Linked DNA regions of Homo sapiens: regions 2, 3 and 4 are each linked to region 1. The links are contacts of gene promoters, found by promoter capture Hi-C in blood cells and fetal thymus (Javierre and others, 2016). All regions are on one chromosome and are shown on one strand. The core of a region is centred on a gene start or on the middle of the fragment in contact, and the rest is flanking DNA. Distances in the headings are between cores, read along the strand shown.

Evidence for each region. The method cuts DNA at HindIII sites, captures the fragments that hold promoters and counts their contacts. A CHiCAGO score of 5 or more calls a contact.
Region 2: a contact is called between a fragment that was not itself captured here and the fragment with the promoter of TIMP3 in region 1, in 1 of 17 cell types (M1 macrophages). The highest score is 5.7, in M1 macrophages.
Region 3: a fragment that was not itself captured here is called in contact with the fragment with the promoter of TIMP3 in region 1 in 5 of 17 cell types (megakaryocytes, erythroblasts, M1 macrophages and 2 more); the score reaches 10.7 in megakaryocytes.
Region 4: a contact is called between a fragment that was not itself captured here and the fragment with the promoter of TIMP3 in region 1, in 1 of 17 cell types (M1 macrophages). The highest score is 5.4, in M1 macrophages.

What each region holds. Positions count from the first base shown.
Region 1 is chr22:32,798,967-32,804,539 of GRCh38, forward strand. It overlaps TIMP3 (TIMP metallopeptidase inhibitor 3), which reads left to right and starts at 2,739. Exons shown (of 5, transcript NM_000362.5): 1 at 2,739-3,156. The coding sequence starts at 3,036. The region is part of intron 6 of SYN3 (synapsin III); the gene reads right to left. The HindIII fragment of the contact is 16,798 bases long and covers 1-5,573 here.
Region 2 is chr22:32,420,294-32,425,866 of GRCh38, forward strand. The region is part of intron 13 of BPIFC (BPI fold containing family C); the gene reads right to left. Among named protein-coding and RNA genes, the nearest start is that of RTCB, 11 kb to the left of the region's middle. The HindIII fragment of the contact is 168 bases long and covers 3,019-3,186 here.
Region 3 is chr22:32,487,472-32,493,044 of GRCh38, forward strand. It overlaps FBXO7 (F-box protein 7), which reads left to right. Exons shown (of 9, transcript NM_012179.4): 5 at 274-357; 6 at 3,615-3,710. Among named protein-coding and RNA genes, the nearest start is that of FBXO7, 15 kb to the left of the region's middle. RefSeq lists an enhancer at 1,335-1,504. The HindIII fragment of the contact is 660 bases long and covers 3,181-3,840 here.
Region 4 is chr22:32,504,874-32,510,446 of GRCh38, forward strand. It overlaps SYN3 (synapsin III), which reads right to left. Exons shown (of 14, transcript NM_003490.4): 14 at 2,947-5,573. Among named protein-coding and RNA genes, the nearest start is that of FBXO7, 33 kb to the left of the region's middle. The HindIII fragment of the contact is 6,268 bases long and covers 1-5,459 here.

The DNA of each region.
Region 1 (5,573 bases), core at 1,489-3,988:
AGGCGTGAGCCACCGCACCCAGCCTGCATCTTCATTCTTACTGTTAGCCTCAGGTTCACCCCACCTAGCTTATTAAGTGATGTTGAATAACCAATTCTTACATATTATTAGGCTCATGGACACCATGACATCCAGACTGATGGGTGCCTGCTGAAGGGGGTGACCCTAGCAGGAGGACTCCCCTACGCAAGGATTCATGGAGTTTGCTGTTTCTTTTCCTTAGGGTGAGAACCAAACTGCCTTCACACGGTGGGCAGAGGGGAACTGACTCAGGTTTGGAATAAGAGAGAACATCCCAACTGAAAAGCTCTTGGAATTCGCTGAACTTCAAGACACTGTGTGGACCAGCTTAGGATAGGGAGTGAGAAGAAATTAACCAAAAGGTAATTTCGTTACTTTTCAGCTGGAAAAAAGATCAGATTATACTTGTGCTTTCATAATTAAGTAGCTGCTGGAAAAAAACGCTTCAGATGCTTTCTATGAGAAAACTGCTGCTTGAAGTTCAGCAGAAGTTATCTACTTGATACTTATATTCCAGGCAAGGCCTTCCGTTGGAGAAAATATCGGCACTTTGGACAAAACTGAAATGTGAAAAGAAAGGGAAGAGAGGGCCTCTATCATGTAAGATGCTTATCCAAAGTGGATTTGGTCTGGAAAGTCTTCTAAAACCTTCCACATGACTGTGGAATAAGTCATGTGGGGCGCGGGGATAAGCGAATCTCTCAAATTCCACCACGTATGCCCTCATTCAACCTGGATCCTTAGAGTGGCCTCCAGGGCACTCTGCTCAGGACTCAGTCAGCTGTTGGCCACACCCATGCTCTCCAGTCTCCTGAGACCCTATTTGGTTCTGAGAGGGCTAAAAAGCAGTGTGGCTAAATATCCCAGGCCTCAAAGTATTCCTACTGTGGTTGGGGAAGCAATAGAATCATACCCCATAAAACAATGAAAACAGTGCTAGAAAAACATCGAGAGACAGAAACATCTCTACGAGTTAGGCCACAGTTAGAGTGAAGGCAGGGAAGGTTTTTAAAGCTGGGTGGAGGGGACAAGTCAAAAAGATGTGGAAACTGGTTTCCCTTTCCTATGGCTAAAGTGCTCAAAGGGGAAAAAGGAGTTTCAAAAATGTTCTTGGAAATACCATCTCTCACGAATTCTTCGGCCTCTGCTGTCCCAATGTCACTTGTCTGAGATGTAAACAGAGGAGTTCTGAGAAAGAAGCTGAACTTGCATTTCTCCCTGTTTCTATTTGTTCCAAACTTGTGGCATTTCTAACAGGATGAAGCGGAAGAGAAAGGGAAAGAGACAAAAGTGTAGAAAGATGGAAGATCCCAGCTGCAAATGGCCATTTGCAGTTAGATGGAACAGCTGCTGACGTTCAGGGAAATGCATGTCTCTCTTCAGATGGGAAGGAGCAGTGGAAAGGGGTGACGAGTTCCTGGCTGGCCACCAATCATCCCATCTTTCTGTGCCGGTTCCTCATCTGGAAAGTGGGAGTGATACTTGTGCTTGCTTTTCCTACCCACAAAGATTATTGTGAGAGCTATAATACGGTGAGATACAGAATCCTGCTTTTAAAAATACAAAGCAGAATCAAGATGTCAATAATAAGGATAGTAATTGTGTTAGTTATCTGCAATCATCTATTATAGCTAGTCGTCTAGGATCCTGGATCGTTCTCCTGGTTTTACTACAGTTTTGGATCAGCTCACCCCCAAATCCCTTGCTGAAGGGTGGAGCTCTGTCAGCCATGGGCAGGGAACCACTTCCTCTTGCCTTTCTACTTTCTGTCTTTCAAACATGCCCAGGGTCTTTGCACTTGCTGTTCCCCCTGCCTGGTACCTCTCTCCTGTGGCTTGCCCCAGAGCTGATCCTTGTCTTTGTCCACTTCTCAGCGAGGATGGCACTTCAGGGAGCCCTTCCCTTACTATCGCAGAGAGAGCAGGCCCTCCCCAGTCATGTCCAACCCAGAACTCTGTTTTGTTTTCTTCATAGCCCTAGCATCACAGAAAATCACCCTGTGCATTCATGGATGTCCACGGGGGCAAGGGCTTTGTGTTGCTTAACCCAGCATCCTGAACCGTGTTTGTTGAATGAATACAGAACCCCGTTTGCTCTGGGAGAGCACAGAAAACAGTCTTCTATCATATATCATAGCCAGCTGCAAACAGCAGATGGCTTCCCATATCCCAGAGAGTAAGAACCAGAGAGAGAGAGAAAGAGAGAGAGTTTGGGTCTTTCTCCTCTGTGCCTGCTCTCTCCAGAGAAACTGGAGGGGTAGCAGTTAGCATTCCCCCGCTGGTTCCACCAAGCACAGTCAAGGTCTCTAGGACATGGCCACCCCTCACCTGTGGAAGCGGTCCTGCTGGGGTGGGTGGGTGTTAGTTGGTTCTGGTTTGGGTCAGAGACACCCAGTGGCCCAGGTGGGCGTGGGGCCAGGGCGCAGACGAGAAGGGGCACGAGGGCTCCGCTCCGAGGACCCAGCGGCAAGCACCGGTCCCGGGCGCGCCCCAGCCCACCCACTCGCGTGCCCACGGCGGCATTATTCCCTATAAGGATCTGAACGATCCGGGGGCGGCCCCGCCCCGTTACCCCTTGCCCCCGGCCCCGCCCCCTTTTTGGAGGGCCGATGAGGTAATGCGGCTCTGCCATTGGTCTGAGGGGGCGGGCCCCAACAGCCCGAGGCGGGGTCCCCGGGGGCCCAGCGCTATATCACTCGGCCGCCCAGGCAGCGGCGCAGAGCGGGCAGCAGGCAGGCGGCGGGCGCTCAGACGGCTTCTCCTCCTCCTCTTGCTCCTCCAGCTCCTGCTCCTTCGCCGGGAGGCCGCCCGCCGAGTCCTGCGCCAGCGCCGAGGCAGCCTCGCTGCGCCCCATCCCGTCCCGCCGGGCACTCGGAGGGCAGCGCGCCGGAGGCCAAGGTTGCCCCGCACGGCCCGGCGGGCGAGCGAGCTCGGGCTGCAGCAGCCCCGCCGGCGGCGCGCACGGCAACTTTGGAGAGGCGAGCAGCAGCCCCGGCAGCGGCGGCAGCAGCGGCAATGACCCCTTGGCTCGGGCTCATCGTGCTCCTGGGCAGCTGGAGCCTGGGGGACTGGGGCGCCGAGGCGTGCACATGCTCGCCCAGCCACCCCCAGGACGCCTTCTGCAACTCCGACATCGGTAAGCGCTCCTGGTGCCCCGCCCGAGCCCCACGCTGCAGCCAGGACTGCAGCGCTGCTTAGGGAGGCAGGGCGAGCCCCACTCCTTTCCTCTGCCCCAGGAGAGGGGCAGACGGGGTTGGGGCGGAGTGGAGAAACTCGATGTCCTTGGGCGGGGGCGCTGGCATAGCTGAGAGGGGAAGATGCCCTGCAGAGGAAACTCACAGTGGCTGAGGGAGCCCCTGGCCGCCTTTGCTTTCCTAACTTAGGTCGTGAGGTTCCTACCGGTCCTTTTGACATCTGGAAAATGTCCCCATTCACTACTAACGGAGGAAGGGCTAGAAGAGAAGGGTGGGGAAAGGGTTCCCAAAACTTGGAATGCTAACTAAAGTGCTGGGAAATTGAATAGTTAAAAAAAAAAAAAAAAGTTGCCCGCCATGTGCACGGAAAGTTGCAGGAGAAACTTGGAGTACTCCGAGTCTGCATCATCTCCTGCGCCTATGAAATTCATTCTTTTCACTGAGACCCAACCCAGCTGCAGGCTTCCCAGGCAAGCGCTAACCGAGCTTCTGGGACTGCCAAGTTTGGGTGGATTTAAGGGGGAAAATGAGGAGAAAGCTGTGGCATTGACCCACGCCCTGGAGGCACTGTGTTTGAGAGTGTTGATAGCCAGCAGAAGGTGCGAGGGGTCACTCACCACATAGCTGTGAAAATTCACAGGAAGGCTATTTTTTTCCCCCTTGAATGTGTGTGGGGAGGGGGAGAATGGGTAGTGGAAAACAGATTTGTCACCAAAAGAACAAACCTGCCAAGGGTCACATCACGGTGACAGTTCCAGACTGGACTTAGTGTCTTGAGTAGAGAGACCCTGTAAAGAGACCTCCTACTCCTTAGTGTGTATGGAGGGCCCCGAGAGCATCCTGGGAGGCTTGTCTGGGAGTGTTTGGGACACTTGTGTTTGGATGGCTAAAGGTGGAGTGGCATCTGGGAAACATCTCTCTCCTCCTTTCCAGCCCATAAAGCGTGCAAGTCCAGTGGCTCTGCTGGGAGAGTGTGTGTGTGTGCACTGGGCTGGGCTGGGCGGTGGGGTGGGACAGCCTTGCCGCCCTCTGCCTGTGTCGATTCAGAGGTGAAGAATGGAGCGTGTGTGTTTTAAGTACAGTCATAAAGGAGAAGGAAATTTTCCACTGAGTCTTGGGTGAGGGACTCTACCAGCGTGTTGTGGTGAGGAGGGGGAGGAGGTAGGAGCTTGGCAGGGGAGGCAGTGAGGGCCGGGAGGGGCACTGCTGGTGGGCTGGGCTGAGCCTAGAGGTCAGAGTGGGGGTGTGGTGACCAGAATGTCAGTGCAGTTGGCAGCTGAGGGTGTTTGTGTGACCTGAGGTCACCCTTGTAAGAGGCTCCCTGGGGCCTGCATGGTACATCCTCCCCTCTCCTGGGGGAACCCAGCTGGCCCAGGATTTGTGGATTGCTTAGAAAGATCCTTTTGGGCAGCCTGAAGACTGGGGAGGGTTTTCCTCCCTCCTCCACCTCCACCCACATTCCACTTACCCTTTCCCTCCTCATCCCAGTTGGTAACATTCCCACCTGATTAGTGTGGGGAGTTGCTGCTGCAGCTGAGTTCTGGTTTTGCCCAGCAGGATCACACACGTGCGGCCAGGAGGCTGGCAGGTGGAATCAGGGTGTGCAGGGGTGCAGCCCAAGTCCTTTTCTGCTGGAAAATGGGCTGGGTGACTTCACTTGCGTTTTTTTGGTATGTAGTGGGAGTAGGTCCCCATTCTTCCCCCTTGCCCTTTGCTTTGGGGTTTCTACCCTAAAAATTGACCACGGAAAAGTGAAAACAAGCATGAGTAGATCCTGCTTCCAATGGGGGCCTTCCCGTCTGCTTACTGCTTAGGTTTCCTGCGGTGGGTCTGAGCAATGCAGAAAGTTTCTTACAATTTCTCTGGATTGAAACAAGAAATAGCTCCCTCGCTCCTCTTCATAAATTTCTCAGAGAAAATCTAAGTTACCAGGAAGTAGCCAAAGACCAGGAGATTGTGGAATCAAAAAGAAAAAAAGAAACAAAAAATCTTCGATGCTCTGGCACGGATCCCAAATTGTTCTGCCTGGGTTTGGTGAGCTGCACTAGTGGCAGGGATGAGCTAATGCTTTTAAAATGGGAGGTGTGGGTGTGAGCTGCTTGCCTGCCGACCTCCCTCGCCTTGCACAGCACCCTGCTGGCGTCCAGTACTTGGCTCCCAAGTTTCATTGCTCAGAGCCTTTCTGGTTTCCAGTCTGGGTTGAAACTGTCTATTCTCGCCCTCAAACAAATATGAAGGAGCTCCCCATTCCTTGGGACCCACACAACCCCACCAGTCAACTTTGTAGCCCCCTAAAGGTGTTCACATCAGCCCATCAACTTCCTGTTTTAAAACCATCATGGTGGTTTTCTCTTCATGG
Region 2 (5,573 bases), core at 1,853-4,352, 380 kb before region 1:
GGTGACAGAGCAAGACTCCGTCTCAAAAAAAAAAAAAAAAAATAGTTTTCAGGTTTCTGGCTCTGAACTCAGCCTCAGCCTTGTAACTTCCCTGAGCCTTTATAATCCCAGTCTACTTGACACTAAATTCTATGACCAGTCTAGGCCACACCCATCAGAAAGCCACATCACTCACACCATTTTTTTAGCTGTTCAATCGTTGCAGATAAGGGAAGCATTAGCTAAGAAAGCTATCTGATGTGAAAGGTACAGTATAATTGTTAGTAACCCCATTTCTGCCTCTTCTTAACTCTGTAGATTTACTTAATCTCTCTGGATCTTAATTTTCTCAACTATGAAATATGAATAAGAATATGTGAAATGACTATAGTTAACAATAATATATTGTGTAGTTTCAAATAGCTAGAGGGAAGATAGAACAGCCTCAACACAAATAAATGACAAATGTTTGAGATAATAGACACGCTAATTGCCTTGATCTGATCACTATACATTGATACACATTGAAACATCACTAGGTACTCCATGAATGTAAAATTACGATATGTCCATTAAACAATACAATTAAAAAAGAACAATACCTGCCTCGCAGGGCTGTAGTGAAAATTGAATGAAATGATGCACATAAAATGCTTAGAACTGTGCCTAGCATATCCTTATCACTCTGAATATGAGCCATTTTTATTAGGAAGAGAAATGCTAACAGTTATAACAGCACATAATGTCCTTGATGTTCTTTTTCAAATATCAACAGAGCACTTGCTGTAGGTCCAAGTAGAAGGGAGTCCTCCTCCCTGACCCCTCTCCCAGCTTGGTAAGGCTGAGTGACAGCGTGTCCTGTTGCTTGATATTTTATGGGAATTTTCATAAGAAAACTCAAGGTCAACGTTGTCTGTTTCCCAATTTTGCCAAGAGCTGATCCATAAGTAGTCCTCCCAATATACACAGTTGATTTTTCTATGCAATAATAATGATACTATGAAGAAATAGTAATGAATAGAGAAGACTCCTTCATTTTGCAGAGGGAGAAACTGAAGGTCAAAGAGGAGAAATATTAACGGCAGATTTGTTACTGGGACTCAGATCTCCTGATGCCCATCCCAGAGCTCTCTTTTTCGTATCTTGCTTTTCCTCTTAGCTTTCTATGGCTCACTTTTGCCCAGGTCTAGAGCCCTACTTCTGCATCAGCCTTCTAACAAATCTCCCTGTTTCCACTATTGACCCTTTCCAATCCATCTTCTACACCATCCCCAGGGGAAGCTACGTTACAGGCATGTCTGATAGAGATACTCTCCTGATCAAAATTCTTGTATTCCTAGGATTGAGTACAGAGGTACTTAATGTTCACTTATTCATTGATTGGGTCATCCAGCAAATATTTATTATGTGTCAGCACTGGGACAGGTGCTAGAGATAGCAGCCTTGTGAGCAAAACTAGACACAACCACTGTTCTCATGTAGCTTACCACCTAGTGGGGTGGCAATCATTAATCAAATCATCCCACTAATTAAGGTTTAATTACAATTGAGATAAATGCTCTTAAGGAAAGAAACAATTTCGTGGAGTCAAAATACAAAGAGGAACTTGATTTCATTTGGTAGATGTAGGAAGGTTTCCAGGGGAGGGCTGCTTGAGCTGAAATATGAAGGATGAATAAGATTCAAAAGGCAGAATGGGGAACGGAGTGGGGAGGGTTCCAGGCAGGGGTTGCAAAAGCCCCACGGAGGGAACTGAGAGCTGGGAGAGCACAGCAGGGCGATGCGAGAGGCAGACAGGATTGACTAGGCTCAGTGCCTCTGGCTGTGTTACGATTTTCATTTTTTATCCTCAGAGCAAGAAATCCAATGAAGGTTTTTTAAGAAAGGAGATGATGTCTGTGTTTTATAAAGATCACTCTGGCTGCAGCATGGAGAAAAGAACAGCAGGCCAACAGGTTACCCAGGTGCTCATTCTGTGCTCAGGAATGTGCGAGGCAATGTGAAGAATTTAACCTCTACCTATAATTATGAGGGATGGAGAGAAGTCGTTTGTAGAAGGTAGAGAACAACACAAAGCAAGGTATACTCAGGTGCTTCTTCATGGGTTTACACACCATACAGACTTGCTGCAGAGACTCTAAAAAGGGTGTGAAGCTGGGCGCGGTGGCTCACACCTGTAATCCCAGCACTTTGGGAGGCTGAGACGGGTGGATCACCTGAAGTCAGGAGTTCGAGACCAGCCTGGCCAACATAGCAAAACCCCATCTCTACTAAAATTACAAAAATTAGCCAGGCATGGTGGCACGTGCCAGTAATCCCCAGCTACTCGGGAGGCAGAGGCAGGAGAATTGCTTAAAACTGGGAGGCAGGGGTTGCAGTGAGCCAAGATCATACCGCTGCATTTCAGTCTGGGCGACAGAGCAAGACTACGTTTTGAAAAAAAAAAGAGAGTGCGAAAAGATGAAGAAACCAGCGTAGGCTAGAGTTGTGTGTGTGTATGTGTGTGTGTGAGCATGCATGTGTATGTGATATGGGGCATATCATGGGGGGAAAACAAGTTTCCCTTTGAGAGAAGACTCTGTACACATCTCTAGCATGTCCTTGGCACCCAGTACTGTTTCTCCCACCAGGCTGTGGACTGGGAAAATAGAAACCATTGTCCTTCTGTGTTAAAAACAGTGCAAAGCACATAATAGGTTCTCAGTAAATTCTTACTGAATGGATGTGTGGATAAATGAGCGGATGAAGGACATGGGTTGGGGAGTGTTTGTTGGAATTGGGGTCACTTTGAAGGTGAGCCAGTCTAAAGCAGAATGTTCATTTTAGTGAGCTTAGGAAGATAAGGTTGGCCGGCTTGAGAAGTAGGACCAGTGGATGAAGAGCTTGAAAACCTCAGACGGTGGATTTAATCCAATGATGAAAAGTTTTAAAGGGAAGAATGTGTTGAACCCATTCCACTATTAAAGGACCCTTTTGATGAGTAAGAGTTATCCAATGTTTGAATTTCATTGTTTCCTGCAGCCTGGAAATTCTGGAAGAAGCTTCCATTTGGGGTTTCCTCCTCTGGCAGGGGCTACCCCACTGTGGCATTCTTCTGCCATGGCTTCAAGAGTAGTTCAGAGGAAGGGTGGAGTTGGGGGGGTCAGCCCAGGTGCCAAGTCTGAGCTCCACTGACTTGTCCATCATTGGGAATTGTTTATATGCCCAAGCTTGAGGAGTAGAGTTAGGTAGTGATTCCATCTGCTTGTAGTCAGCTATATTTGCATTCTCTCGCTATGTTGCTTGGGAGGAGTTGTAGGGTGTGGGTGTGTGTGTGTGTGTGTGTGTGTGTGTGTTGTGGATGTGTGTTGATGGTGGAGTTCAATTTGGAGTGTCCAAAGTCTCAATCAATGCAATGTCAAAAAAAAAACAAAAAAACCTCCTAAGTTATAGATGGCTCAACAGTAACGTACATCTGATTGCCTTGAGCTTTGCATGGGATTAAGAAAAGAGGGTTAGAATTAAGTGATCTGGATGAAGACCAAAAAAGGGAAAGTGTCATTTAACTTGGCCTCTGAAGTAATCTAAAATATGTCTACTATGTGGGCCAAACTGTACTGAGGTTGCCTCCAAAGAGAAGTATGTTTGGAACAACTCTCAATTGTAAATAGAGCAGTGAGTCTGGTTTAAAACTCCACAGCTTTAAAAACCATCCTGACTTGTCATGTCTCTTGGGATCAGTTTCTCCCTGTTATTTGGTCAAAATTTGATCTTAGAATGGGGAAAAAGAATGAAATACTAGTACTACTAGGAACAAATATTTCTGGATCAATGACTATATGCTGACTGTTGTGCTAAGTGATTTACATACATTATCTCATCCACCCATACAACAACCCTATGGAGGGGTGTTCTGTTTTGCTAATGAGGAAACTGATACTTAACGAGGTTAAGTAACTTGCTTAAGGTCACTAGGTAGCAAGTGGCAGAGGTAGAATTCAAATCCAGATATGCCTGACTCCAGAGACTGTGCTCTTAACTAGACATGCTCAAAGAGTTCAAGTGTATTATTAGAATTGCTAGTTTTTTACTTTCTTCACCATTTTCTCCCCTTGATTCCTTGATGCGGTGACAAAAGTGCTGTGTGTTTTTTTCTATTTCAGCACAACCAGTTCCAGTGTTTTCTCTTTCTTTTATCAATGCTGAATATTGAAAAAGGGCATGCTGCCTGTTTCAACTTAGCGTGACTCCATGCTTATGGGTTTCCTCTTCCAGGCAAGGGTATAAAGGTATTTATTTCCTAAATCTTAAGTGTTATTTTCTTTCTTCTTCTTCTTCTTCTTCTTCTTCTCCTCCTCCTCCTCCTCCTCCTCCTCCTCTTCTTCTTCTTCTCTTCTTCTTCTTCTTCTTCTTCTTCTTCTTCTTCTTCTTCTTCTTCTTCCTCTTCTTCTTCCTCTTCTTCTTCCTCTTCTTCTTCCTCTTCTTCTTCCTCTTCTTCTTCCTCTTCTTCTTCTTCTTCTTCTTCTTCTTCTTCTTCCTTTTTTTTTGAGACGGAGTTTTGCTCTTGTCGCCCAGGCTAGAGTGCAGTGGTGTGATCTCGGCTCACTGCAACCTCCGCTTCCTGCATTCAAGCGATTCTCCTGCCTCAGCCTCCAGAGTAGCTGGGATTACAGGCATGCACCACCATGCCCAGCTAATTTTTGTATTATTAGTAGAGATGGAGTTTCACCATGTTGGCCAGGCTGGTCTCGAACTCCTGACCTCAGATGATTCACCTGCCTCGGCCTCCCAAAGTGCTGAGATTATAGGCGTGAGCCACCACGCCTGGCCTTGCCTTATTTTCTAAGTCAAAGCTCTTCACTACATCAAAGGCAGTATACTGTGGTAAGTAAATACTCACTGCTTTGAAAGCGGACTCACCCAGGTTCAAGTTCTGGCTCAGCCATTCAATAGCTCTGTGACCTTCAGTAAGTTATTTAATCTCTACAAACTGTAAAATGGGGATAATAGTACCTACCTCTAGGACCGTTCATTTAATCTACTGACATTTATTGAGCACTGTGCCAGGCCCTGGAGACACAGAGTTGTAAGATTTAAAATGAAATAATAGAGGTGTTGGGCTTGGCACAGGACCTAGTAGATGACAAAGATCCAATAATAAACAATAGCCATGAATTATACAAAAAAGGACTATTTCTTAGCTATCCATGGGCAGGATACAGGGGAGCGAAGTGTATTCTGAATCAGGGGACTCTGGAAATGATCTTGTACGATTGAGCACCTCCTTGTCCTGGCTGAGGCTATCTCTAAATTTGAAATCATAGTCAAAGCCAACAGCTAAGAAATAGTCTTTTTTTGGTACAGTTCATGACTATTCTTTATTATTGGGCCTTTACCGTCTATTAGGTCCCGTGCCAAGCCCGGTGCCTCTGTCATTTCATTTAAACCTTACAACTCCGTGTCTCCAGGGCCTGGAACAGTGCACAATAATGGTCAATAGATTAAATGAATGGTCCTGGAGGTAGGTACTATTATTCCCGTTTTATGCTTTATGGAGATTAAATAACTTACACCCAAGATCACAGAGCTATTGAATGGCAACCACACACTTTACC
Region 3 (5,573 bases), core at 2,261-4,760, 310 kb before region 1:
TAAGTTACTAATAAGCTGCTGCCTAGTGGATTTTATATAAAGATGCTTACTGTAGTTTTTAAAGGTGGTGTTGTAGAGTGATTTTACTTCATGTGATGCCAGGTTTACACTTTTGAACTTGCTATCAGAGAAAGAAATAGGCGAAGAACAGTTTGTTTTGTATAATGTGTCCTTAGTATATTAGGAGCTAGGAAATGCAAGCCCATACTAAAAAAGAAAGGCAGTTGATGAAGTGACAGAATTCTTTATCATCTTTCTTTTGTTTATTTACAGCTACACTAAAAATCAACAATGAGATTAGAAGTGTGAAAAGATTGCAGCTGCTACCAGAATCTTTTATTTGCAAAGAGAAACTAGGTAATACAAACATTATTTAACTTTTGGGGTGAAACTCTGTGAAATTCATATAAGAAAAAAATCTGAAAGATAATGTTCAAAAGACTGAAAATTTCTATATGAGATTAAAGCATATTGAAGACAATGTGGTTTGTTTAAGAATGCAAAGGTTTAAAAAATGTGAAAGTTTTGCTTATAATTTGAGGAGTTTGTTTCTTTCCTGTTTTTCTTAGGGTCATAGTGTGCTGAATTATATTGTTATGAGATAACACTAGTATGTAATTTATTACACTCTGATGATAGTTCATAGTTTCTGTACTAATCTTTGGAGATCTCCCTATTGAGATCTCCATATTGGTATTTAACCAATATGGAGGGGATCTGTGTTTCATGAAAGTAATTCAATGTCAAGTTCATTATTGAAGATTATTGGAGGAAAAACTACAATCAAAATGTTTGTTTAAACCTATATAAATTTGATGGCTATTTTATACAGATTGATACTTTACCAAAGGTTTGCATTCTAGGTAAGGTTTTGCTTAAACTCTATAAAATTATTAATAGATACAAAGAAGACAGGTTTTCCCTTTTATCATTTTTCAGTTAAACCAAACTGTGAGAGGCAGTTATAGGTGGTTGGAGCAGAAGAGATAAGGTGGAGAGGGGAACTGACATTTTTTAAGTGCCTGTTTCATTCTGTACTTGTGCCTGTACATATGTTATTCCATTTAATCTTCTTAGTAAACTTAGGAGGGTTTTAAGAGCCTAGTGGGAATGTTGTGGTACAATGGGAAGATGGCATTTATAGCAGTCCTTTAGGAAAGGCTGGCTAGATTGACATTGTTGCTTTGAAGGCCTAAAGGCTTATTCTTGTTCATTCCTAGGGGAGATCAGCCCTGAGAGATTGACTTATACTAACTAAAACTGACAGGAAAAGGAGATAGCAGAATACATATTTATAACGGTCTCTGATTGGATGTAGAGTCAGAAATTGGGAATTAGCTGAATTGAATTTTTTTTTTGAGACGGAGTCTTGCTCTTTCGCCAGGCTGGAGTGCCGTGGCGCTATCTCGGCTCACTTCAACTTCCACCTCCTGGGTTCAAGCAATTCTTCTGCCTCAGCCTCCTGAGTAGATGGACTACAGGCGCACACCACCACGCCCAGCCAATTTTTTTTTATTTTTAGTAGAGACAGGGTATCACCATATTGGCCAGGCTGGTCTCGAACTCCTGACCTTGTGATCTGCCCGCCTCGGCCTCCCAAAGTGCTGGGATTACAGGCATGAGCCACTGCGCCCGACCGAGTTGAACATTTAATGTCAGACTAGGCCAGAGTTTCTCAATCTTTTTATTCTCACTTCCCAAAGGAGCCGTTGGAGATTTTCCCCTCAATCTCTCTCCTTCATGAAATTTCATACCACAAATATAGTATGTTTTATTTATGTACTGTGACCCTTTGAAGGATCACAAACCAATATAATAGTTTTTCTTTTTAACCCGTCAAGGACCAGTTTTTGCCCCTGTTGGAAATGCATAAACTGGACTGATGAATTGGTATAGATGGCTTTTATCATGAGGATCAGAAAAACTTGAAATTCCTTGGCTACGACACTCCATATTTATCACCGTATAGGGAGGACCTTGTTATGGGGAGTAGAAACACTCTACACTTTACAGCAGTAGAGGTTTTATGCCCATTTTATAGATCAGGAAACAGATCTAGAGGAGGCTCACTTACTTAAGGGTCACAGAGCCAATAAATGGTGAAATACAGGATAGGAATAGATTTGGCTGACTCCCAGCCTTTTAAAACAACTTTTACAGGAATGTAGCTCAGATTGTTATTCTTTATCTGGTTTCTCTTAAATAAAGAAAAATGAAATGGAAGGGAGGAGGAACATTAAATACTGTTAAATTACAAGTTTATGGACTGTTATAATGAAGTATTTTTAATAAAGTCTTATGTTGAGTAGGAATATGCTGCTCATTTGGCAAGTCATTTTAATGAATTTTTACTGTGGTTCATAGCACCTAGTAACTATAACTAGGCACTGTTATTTATCCTTTTATTTATAAGTTCCTAATTAAATAGTTACATACCAGGTTGCTGAAGGAAAACATTCATTTAAAGAAAATCAATTTTCACATTTGAAAAAAGCCCTTGAGCCAAATTGATTTTAAAGAATGATATCTTGACAGCAAATTTCAACTCAAGATTGCAAGTCACACAACAAAGATTTAGACATTAGCTGCATATCTCTTTCCTTCTTCTTATCGATCCTGTTATACTGAGTGTTTTATTTGTTATAGATAGTGAAATACATAAATATGAAATGGGGAAGGAGCAAGCATAAATTGCCTACTGATACCCTAGGCACTGCTCGTGGAGCTTTCAATTATAACAACGCTTATCTGGTGTAGTGGTGGTGTCTCCTTTAAACAGTTGAGCAAAAAGGTGAGGATCAGAGGGGCAGGTTATTTGTCCAAGGCTATACACTTGGTAAATAGCAAAACAAGTGGGAACCTCGGCTGCAGTTTGCTAGTGCGTCCGTACTTTACTATGAGTCACCTGGGGATCTTATTAAAATATAGGTTCTGATTTGGTAGGTCTGTGGGGGCCTGAGATTCAGTAGTTCTAAACAGTTCCAGGTATTGTCAGTTCTGGTGATCTGTCGCCCACATGTTGAGTAGCAGTGTGGTGACTAAAAATGAGTGCTTTTGAGCCACACGGACTTGGGTTTGTGCACTGTTCTGCCACTAACCATGGGGCCTTGGACAGGCTTTCTGTACCTTGACCTGTTTTTAAAATGGAGATAGTAATTAGGAAAGAACTTCTGATGTGAAAGCTTGAAAAACGCTTGACACAGGTGCTGATACATAGTCATCATGCGATAAATGCTATTAATTTACCAGGTTCTAAGCGTTAACAGGAGCAGTTCTCCACTGTATCCTTAGTGCCCAGAACAGATTGATAGCTATCAGGAAATCTTCGTATGTATGAATCTCTCACAAGTCTTTTCTACAACTGCAGCCTATGAGCTAGAGAGGTTGGGCACAGCTCTACTAATTTGATATCATGGAATTTTTAGCTTTTATATCTAAGATTCAGTTTCATCAAGTCTTGCACTGTACTTCTTCCATGAGGGAATTTGGTTCATGCTTATCTTTGTGAATTATTTGTGAATATTTATTCACCATGTTGATTGGGTTTGGCAGAAATAGAGGACAGTTTTTTCACTTGATTTTGGGTTTTGATTTTACTTTAAAAAATATTCTAGGGGAAAATGTAGCCAACATATACAAAGATCTTCAGAAACTCTCTCGCCTCTTTAAAGACCAGCTGGTGTATCCTCTTCTGGCTTTTACCCGACAAGGTAAGAGATGAAATACTGTCACAATTTAAATGACTGTAAAGAATAGTAAGTATACTTAATATTCTTGGTGAGTATGACATCTGACTGCCCTCTTTTCTGCTCCTGGCGAAATGTTCCTCTTCTAAGACTAAGCTTAATATTCCTTAAGTGCTATTTACTTTATCTTTGTATCTCCATGCCATTTTGTACATATTTTTATTGTAGTCTCTTTTCCATGGACTATAATTGTTGATATGATTTCTTTCCACCTAAGGTTGGGAATACCTTGAAGGTAGGGAATATATCTTACTTTTGTATTCTTGTGGTCTAGCATGAGGTCAGGTACATAATAGATGCTCTTTCTCTCTGTGTAGATACATATATATATGTCTATATAGACATATATTTAGATATATATGTCTATATAGACATATATTTAGATATATATGTCTATATAGACATATATAAATAATACATGGTCTGTAATTGGATCTAAGTTTTTTTTTTTAAACCATTTATTGGAGGCTCTTTGCAGGCACTTAGTTGGATATTTCACATGCATTCTTATTTACTGCTAATGACTTCGAAGTAAATTATGTGGTACTTATTTTATAGATGATGAAATCATAATTCAATAAGGTTTATAATTCACTCGAGATCCTTATATTAGCTTCTCATTTTTTTGCAGTTAAAAAAATTAAAATCTCAGTGTCTTACAGTGAAATTTACTTCTCACTCGTGTACATGTTGTGTGTGGGTTTGCTTTGGCTGAAGGAGTTGTCTTTATCCAGGACATGCTCCTCTTGTAGTAGAAGGAAAGGAGTGCCAGTGGCCCAATTATGTGTTGGTTCAACGCTTTTGCCCAGAAATTATATATGTCACTTCCACTCACGTTTTGTCAGAAAAAATAAGACAAAAATGGCCAAGCCTGATGGTGGTGGGATGGGGAAGTATAATTATGCGTAGGAAGTGATTGAGAACCATAATACAATCTACCACAATTCTCCAACTAGTAGGTAGTTTGACTTATATGAATAGATAGTGGCTTTTATTTGCTCTCTATATGTAGAGAAATAAGTAAAACGTTTTTGGTGTCAAGTTGAATGGTGGCATGTCTATTATTACAGTAGTCTTCTCTGTAGTTGGTGATAAGGGAAAGGGAGTAATGCCAATTGAAAAACATGTAGATATGTCTGTTGGATTTTGATTATTTTTGCTAGTGGAGAATAGTATCACAAATATTTTGAAGGTGCTAATAACCAAAACATAATTTTCATTGAACTTGGGACATATTATTTTTCCTTTCCTTTCTTGGCTTTGTTTCTGAATTTATCTATCTCTTTTTAGCCTGCTAGACTTCAGATAATAGTAATTTGCTAACACTTGAGTGCTTATGCTTGGTGTGCCAAACATTGTTCTAAGCACTTAATATGTGTTAATACATTTACTTCTCACAACTCATTGAAGTAGGTGGAATGTAATATTAATCCATTTTACAGATGAAATTAAGATAGCATTTAAATAACTTGTCCAAAGGCACACAGTTAATAACTGGCATGGAAACAGATATAAAAGCCAGTGAATTATTCATTTTCTGTAGTTGAATGAAGAAATTTTGTTGTATTGAATAATGTTTGAGACAGAAGAGACCATTGGCTAGTATTTAGCAATTATCATAGTTATTTGATTTATATTAAAAAGCATTTGTCTTTCCACTAAAACATAAAGGGAATAAGGGCCTAGAGTTATATGAGTTAATAGTAATTATAGTCAAGCTGGGGTTAAAAATTTGTTGTAGATGATGCATACTTGGGGATAATTAAGAGTACCATCTAATTTTCTGTCACTTTAGAAAGGAACAAGTGGCAACTTTGTTGACTATGT
Region 4 (5,573 bases), core at 1,076-3,575, 290 kb before region 1:
GGCCCTCAAACCCCACAACAGGACTTAATTAACCTCACCTTCAAGGTGTGCAATAACAGAAAAAAGTTGCAATTCCTTGCCTCCACTGTGAGACAATCCCCAGTCACATCTCCAGCACACAAGAACTTCCAAACGCAACCAGGCGTTCCTCCGGAACCTCCTCCCCCAGGAGCTTGCTACACGCGCCGGAAATCTGGCCACTGGGCCAAGGAATGCCCGCAGCCCGGGATTCCTCCTAAGCCGCGTCCCATCTGTGCGGGACCCCACTGAAAATCGGACTGTTCAACTCACCTGGCAGCCACTCCCAGAGCCCCTGGAACTCTGGCTCAAGGTTCTCTGACTGACTCCTTCTTGACTTACCGGCTGAAGACTGATGCTGCCTGATCGCCTCAGAAGCCCCGTAGACCATCACGGATGCCGAGCTTTAGGTAACTCTCACGGTGGAGGGTAAGTCCGTCCCCTTCTTAATCAATACGGAGGCTACCCACTCCACATTACCTTCTTTTCAAGGGCCTGTTTCCCTTGCCTCCATAACTGTTGTGGGTATTGACGGCCAGGCTTCTAAACCTCTTAAAACTCCCCAACTCTGGTGCCAACTTAGACAATACTCTTTTAAGCACTCCTTTTTAGTTATCCCCACCTGCCCAGTTCCCTTATTAGGCTGAGACACTTTAACTAAATTATCTGCTTCCCTGACTATTCCTGGACTACATCTATATCTCATTGCCGCCCTTCTTCCCAATCCAAAGCCTCCTTTGCGTCCTCCTCTTGTATCCCCCCACCTTAGCCCACAAGTATAAGATACCTCTACTCCCTCCTTGGCGACCGATCGTGCACCCCTTACCATCTCATTAAAACCTAATCACCCTTACCCCACTCAACGCCAATATCCCATCCCGCAGCACGCTTTAAAAGGATTAAAGCCTGTTATCACTCGCCTGCTACAGCATGGCCTTTTAAAGCCTATAAACTCTCCTTACAATTCCCCTATTTTACCTGTCCTAAAACCAGACAAGCCTTACAAGTTAGTTCAGGATCTGCACCGTATCAACCAAATTGTTTTGCCTATCCCCCCTGTGGGGCCCAACCCGTACACTCTTTTGTCCTCAATACCTCCCTCCACAACTCACTATTCCGTGCTTGATCGTAAAGATGCTTTCTTCACTATTCCCCTGCACCCCTCGTCCCAGCCTCTCTTTGCTTTCACTTAGACTGACCCTGACACCCATTAGGCTCAGCAAATTACCTAGGCTGTACTACTGCAAGACTTCATAGACAGCCCCCATTACTTCAGTCAAGCCCAAATTTCATCCTCATCTGTTACCTATCTCGGCATAATTCTCATAAAAACACACGTGCTTTCCCTGCTGATCGTGTCCGATTAATCTCCCAAACCTCAATCCCTTACAAAATAACAACTCCTTTCCTTCCTAGGCATGGTTAGTGCGGTCAGAATTCTTACACAAGAGCCAGGACTGCGTCCTGCAGCCTTTCTGTCCAAACAACTTGACCTTACTGTTTTAGCCTAGCCCTCATGTCTGCGTGCAGCGGCTGCCGCTGCTTTAATACTTTTAGAGGCCCTAAAAATCACAAACTATGCTCAACTCACTCTCTACATTTCTCATAACTTCCAAAATCTATTTTCTTCCTCATACCTGACGCATATACTTTCTGCTCCCCGGCTCCTTCAGCTGTACTCACTCTTTGTTAAGTCCCACAATTACCATTGTTCCTGGCCGGGACTTCAATCTGGCCTCCCACATTATTCCTGATACCACACCTGACCCCCATGACTGTATCTCTCTGATCCACCTGATACTCACCCCATTTCCCCATATTTCCTTCTTTCCTGTTCCTCACCCTGATCACGCTTGATTTTTTGATGGCAGTTCCACCAGGCCTAATCGCCACACACCAGCAAAGCCAGGCTATGCTATAGTACAAGCCACTAGCCCACCTCTCAGAACCTCTCATTTCCTTTCCATCGTGGAAATCTATCCTCAAGGAAATAACTTCTCAGTGTTTCATCTGCTATTCTACTACTCCTCAGGGATTATTCAGGCCCCCTCCCTTCCCTACACATCAAGCTCCAGGATTTGCCCCCACCCAGGACTGGCAAATTAGCTTTACTCAACATGCCCGAGTCAGGAAACTAAAATACCTCTTAGTCTAAATAGACACTTTCACTGAATAAGTAAAGGCGTTTCCTACAGGGTCTGAGAAGGCCACCACAGTCATTTCTTCCCTTCTGTCAGACATAATTCCTCAGTTTAGCCTTCCCACCTCTATACAGTCTGATAGCAGACCAGCCTTTATTAGTCAAATCAGCCAATTAGTTTTTCAGGCTCTTAGTATTCAGTGAAACCTTTATATCCCTTACGGTCCTCTATCTTCAAGAAAAGTAGAACGGACTAAAGGTCTTTTAAAAACACACCTCACCAAGCTCAGCCACCAACTTAAAAAGGACTGGACAATACTTTTACCACTTTCGCTTCTCAGAATTCAGGCCTGTCCTCAGAATGCTACAAGGTACAGCCCATTTAAGCTCCTGTATAGATGCTCCTTTTTATTAGGCCCCAGTCTCATTCCAGACACCAGACCAACTTAGACTGTGCCCCCAAAAAAAACTTGTCATCCCTACTATCTTCTGTCTAGTCATACTCCTATTCTCCGTTCTCAACTACTCATACATGCCCTGCTCTTGTTTACACTGCCAGTTTACACTGTTTCTCCAAGCCATCACAGCTGATATCTCCTCGTGCTATCCCCAAACTGCCACTTTTAACTCTTGAAGTAAATAAATAATCTTTGCTGGCAGGACTATGCTGAATCTCCTTAGGCACTCTCTAATCAGATGTCCTAGGTCCTCCCAATTCTTAGACCTTTTATACCTGTTTTTCTCCTTCTTATTCCATTTAGTTTTTCAATTCATACAAAACCATATCCAGGCCGTCACCAATCATTCTACACAACAAATGTTTCTTCTAACATCCCCACAATATCACCCCTTACCACGAGACCTCCCTTCAGCTTAATCTCTCCCACTCTAGGTTCCCACGCCGCCCCTAATCCCACTCGAAGCAGCCCTGAGAAACATCGCCCATTCTCTCTCCATACCACCCCCCAAAAATTTTCGTCGCCCCAACACTTCAACACTATTTTGTTTTATTTTTCTTATTAATATAAGAAGGCAGGAATGTCAGGCCTCTGAGCCCAAGCCAAGCCATCGCATCCCCTGTGACTTGCGCGTATACGCCCAGATGGCCTGAAGTAACTGAAGAATCACAAAAGAAGTGAAAAGGCCCTGCCCCGCCTTAACTGATGACATTCCACCATTGTGATTTGTTCCTGCCCCACCTTAACTGAGTGATTAACCCTGTAAATTTCCTTCTTCTGGCTCAGAAGCTCCCGCACTGAGCACCTTGTGACCCCCGCCCCTGCCCACCAGAGAACAACCCCCTTTGCATGTAATTTTCCATTACCTTCCCAAATCCTATAAAACGGCCCCATCCCTACTCCCTTTGCTGACTCTCTTTTCGGACTCATCCGGCCTGCACCCAGGTGAAATAAACAGCCATGTTGCTCACACAAAGCCTGTTTAGTGGTCTCTTCACACAGACGCGCATGAAAGGGGCCCCAAGGAGAGGTCTCATGTTCTCATTCTGCCTCCTCCCATTCCTCTTCAGATTCAGTTTGGAAGAGGTCTTTTTGAGGTTGAAAACCTGCCATTGATCTTCTTCCGCTTCTTTTCTCTATCTCATTTTACTGGGTTTTGGTTTGTTTGATTCTGTTCCTGGGCAAGTGACTTCCATATATTGATACTCTTAGAAAAACATCTTTTTACTTCAATCTTAATACTTTTGTTTGGATTTTATTTCATAGTTTTCTAGGAGGGCTGAGCTAAAACATGTCCTGAACACCTGCTGGGTGCCAAGCAATGTGCTCTGAGCTTCACTCTCTTGACCCATGCACAAGATACCTGCACTAGCTTGCCAGATGAGAACTTCCAGAAGGCAGTTGATGTTCAGTTTTATGGGGTTTGCTGCTGTGTTTGTTACCATGTGAGTGAAGACCTATCATCCCCTTAAATTTTGGAAAGATAGAATTGAGTGTTAGTTCTATCTTGAATGTATCTGAATATTAGTTAATTCAGCAGGGACGGAATGTTAGGCTAGAGAATGTAGTAATGAAGAGAATCTAGGGAACTGATGGAAGAGAAAGGATATGCCACTGTTCCTGGAAAGCTGATTTTACATTTAACCAAAGTACGGTACCATTTTATCGCGCTGACGGGAGGAAGATCTGGAAGAACTTTTCTGTGGCTGGTAGAGCTGTCCGCTAAGGCTGCGTTTTTAAATCCCTGTTCATTGTGAACAAATCAAATAGGTCTTTGTTGTGTTTCAGCTTCCCCGAGTCAGCTTGGAGGGAAAATGCTAGCCTCTCTCTGGCTCAAAGTTGTGAAACAAAGCAAGAAAAACAACAAACATAACATTTTAGAGTCTATACAGCATGACTCCCCTCTCCCTCCTTTTTGCCCTTTCCCATTTCAAAATGTCACAATTATTAAAGGTTACATGTTTGGAAGGAACAGGTACTAGTCTATGTGACAGAACAGACTATTTTAGGGTCGCCATGAGACCTATGTGTCCTTGGTTCCTATGTTCATACACAGACCAATGGGGAAAGTATTATTATTATTATTATTATTATTTTGAGACAGAGTCTCACTCTGTTGCCCAGGCTGGAGTGCAGTGGTGCGATCTCGGCTCACTGCAAGCTCCGCCTCCCGGGTTCACGCCATTCTCCTGCCTCAGCCTCCCTAGTAGCTGGGACTACAGGCGCCCGCTACCACGCCCGGCTAATTTTTTATATTTTTAGTAGAGATGGGGTTTCACCGTGTTAGCCAGGATGGTCTCGATCTCCTGACCTAGTCATCCGCCCACCTCGGCCTCCCAAAGTGCTGGGATTACTGATGTGAGCCACTGCGCCTGGCCCCAGTGGGGAAATTATTTAAATGTGTTGGCTATAAACTAGTGTTATGTCATGGATCTGGATATATGAGTATGGTTATAAAAATCAGGATGCCTGGCCTGATTTGGAGCTTGGAAGGAGGTTCTGCGGCTGTTGTACACAGATACTGGAGTATCTGGGAGATATCCTTTGGATGCTGAGGTGTGTCTGAGGCCAAAGGACAGAATATAGGAATATGGGAGAATTTAGGCCATGTGGTCATTGTTCACGGGGCCACTAGTTTCACTCACTAAAGGAGTGGGTTCGTAGCTGCGTTGGAGACTGCAGCACACCCGTAGCAGTACTGTTTCTCATGCAGTGGCTTTCCCACAGAGCCCAGCTCAGGTTTGCTGGTCTCACATCAAAGTGCATTCAAAGTGGGGAGATTGACAAAGATGCAGGTTCTGGGTCCTGTGACCAGAAATTCGGACTCCTTTAGTCCGACATGAAGCTTCATCTGCCTTTGTAACTAGCTCTGCCCATGGCCGTGGCCCACAGGTTGAGAAACTTTGTCCAGCCTATTACCATTCAGTTGTATGTTTTGAGCTGTCTTTTATTACTAA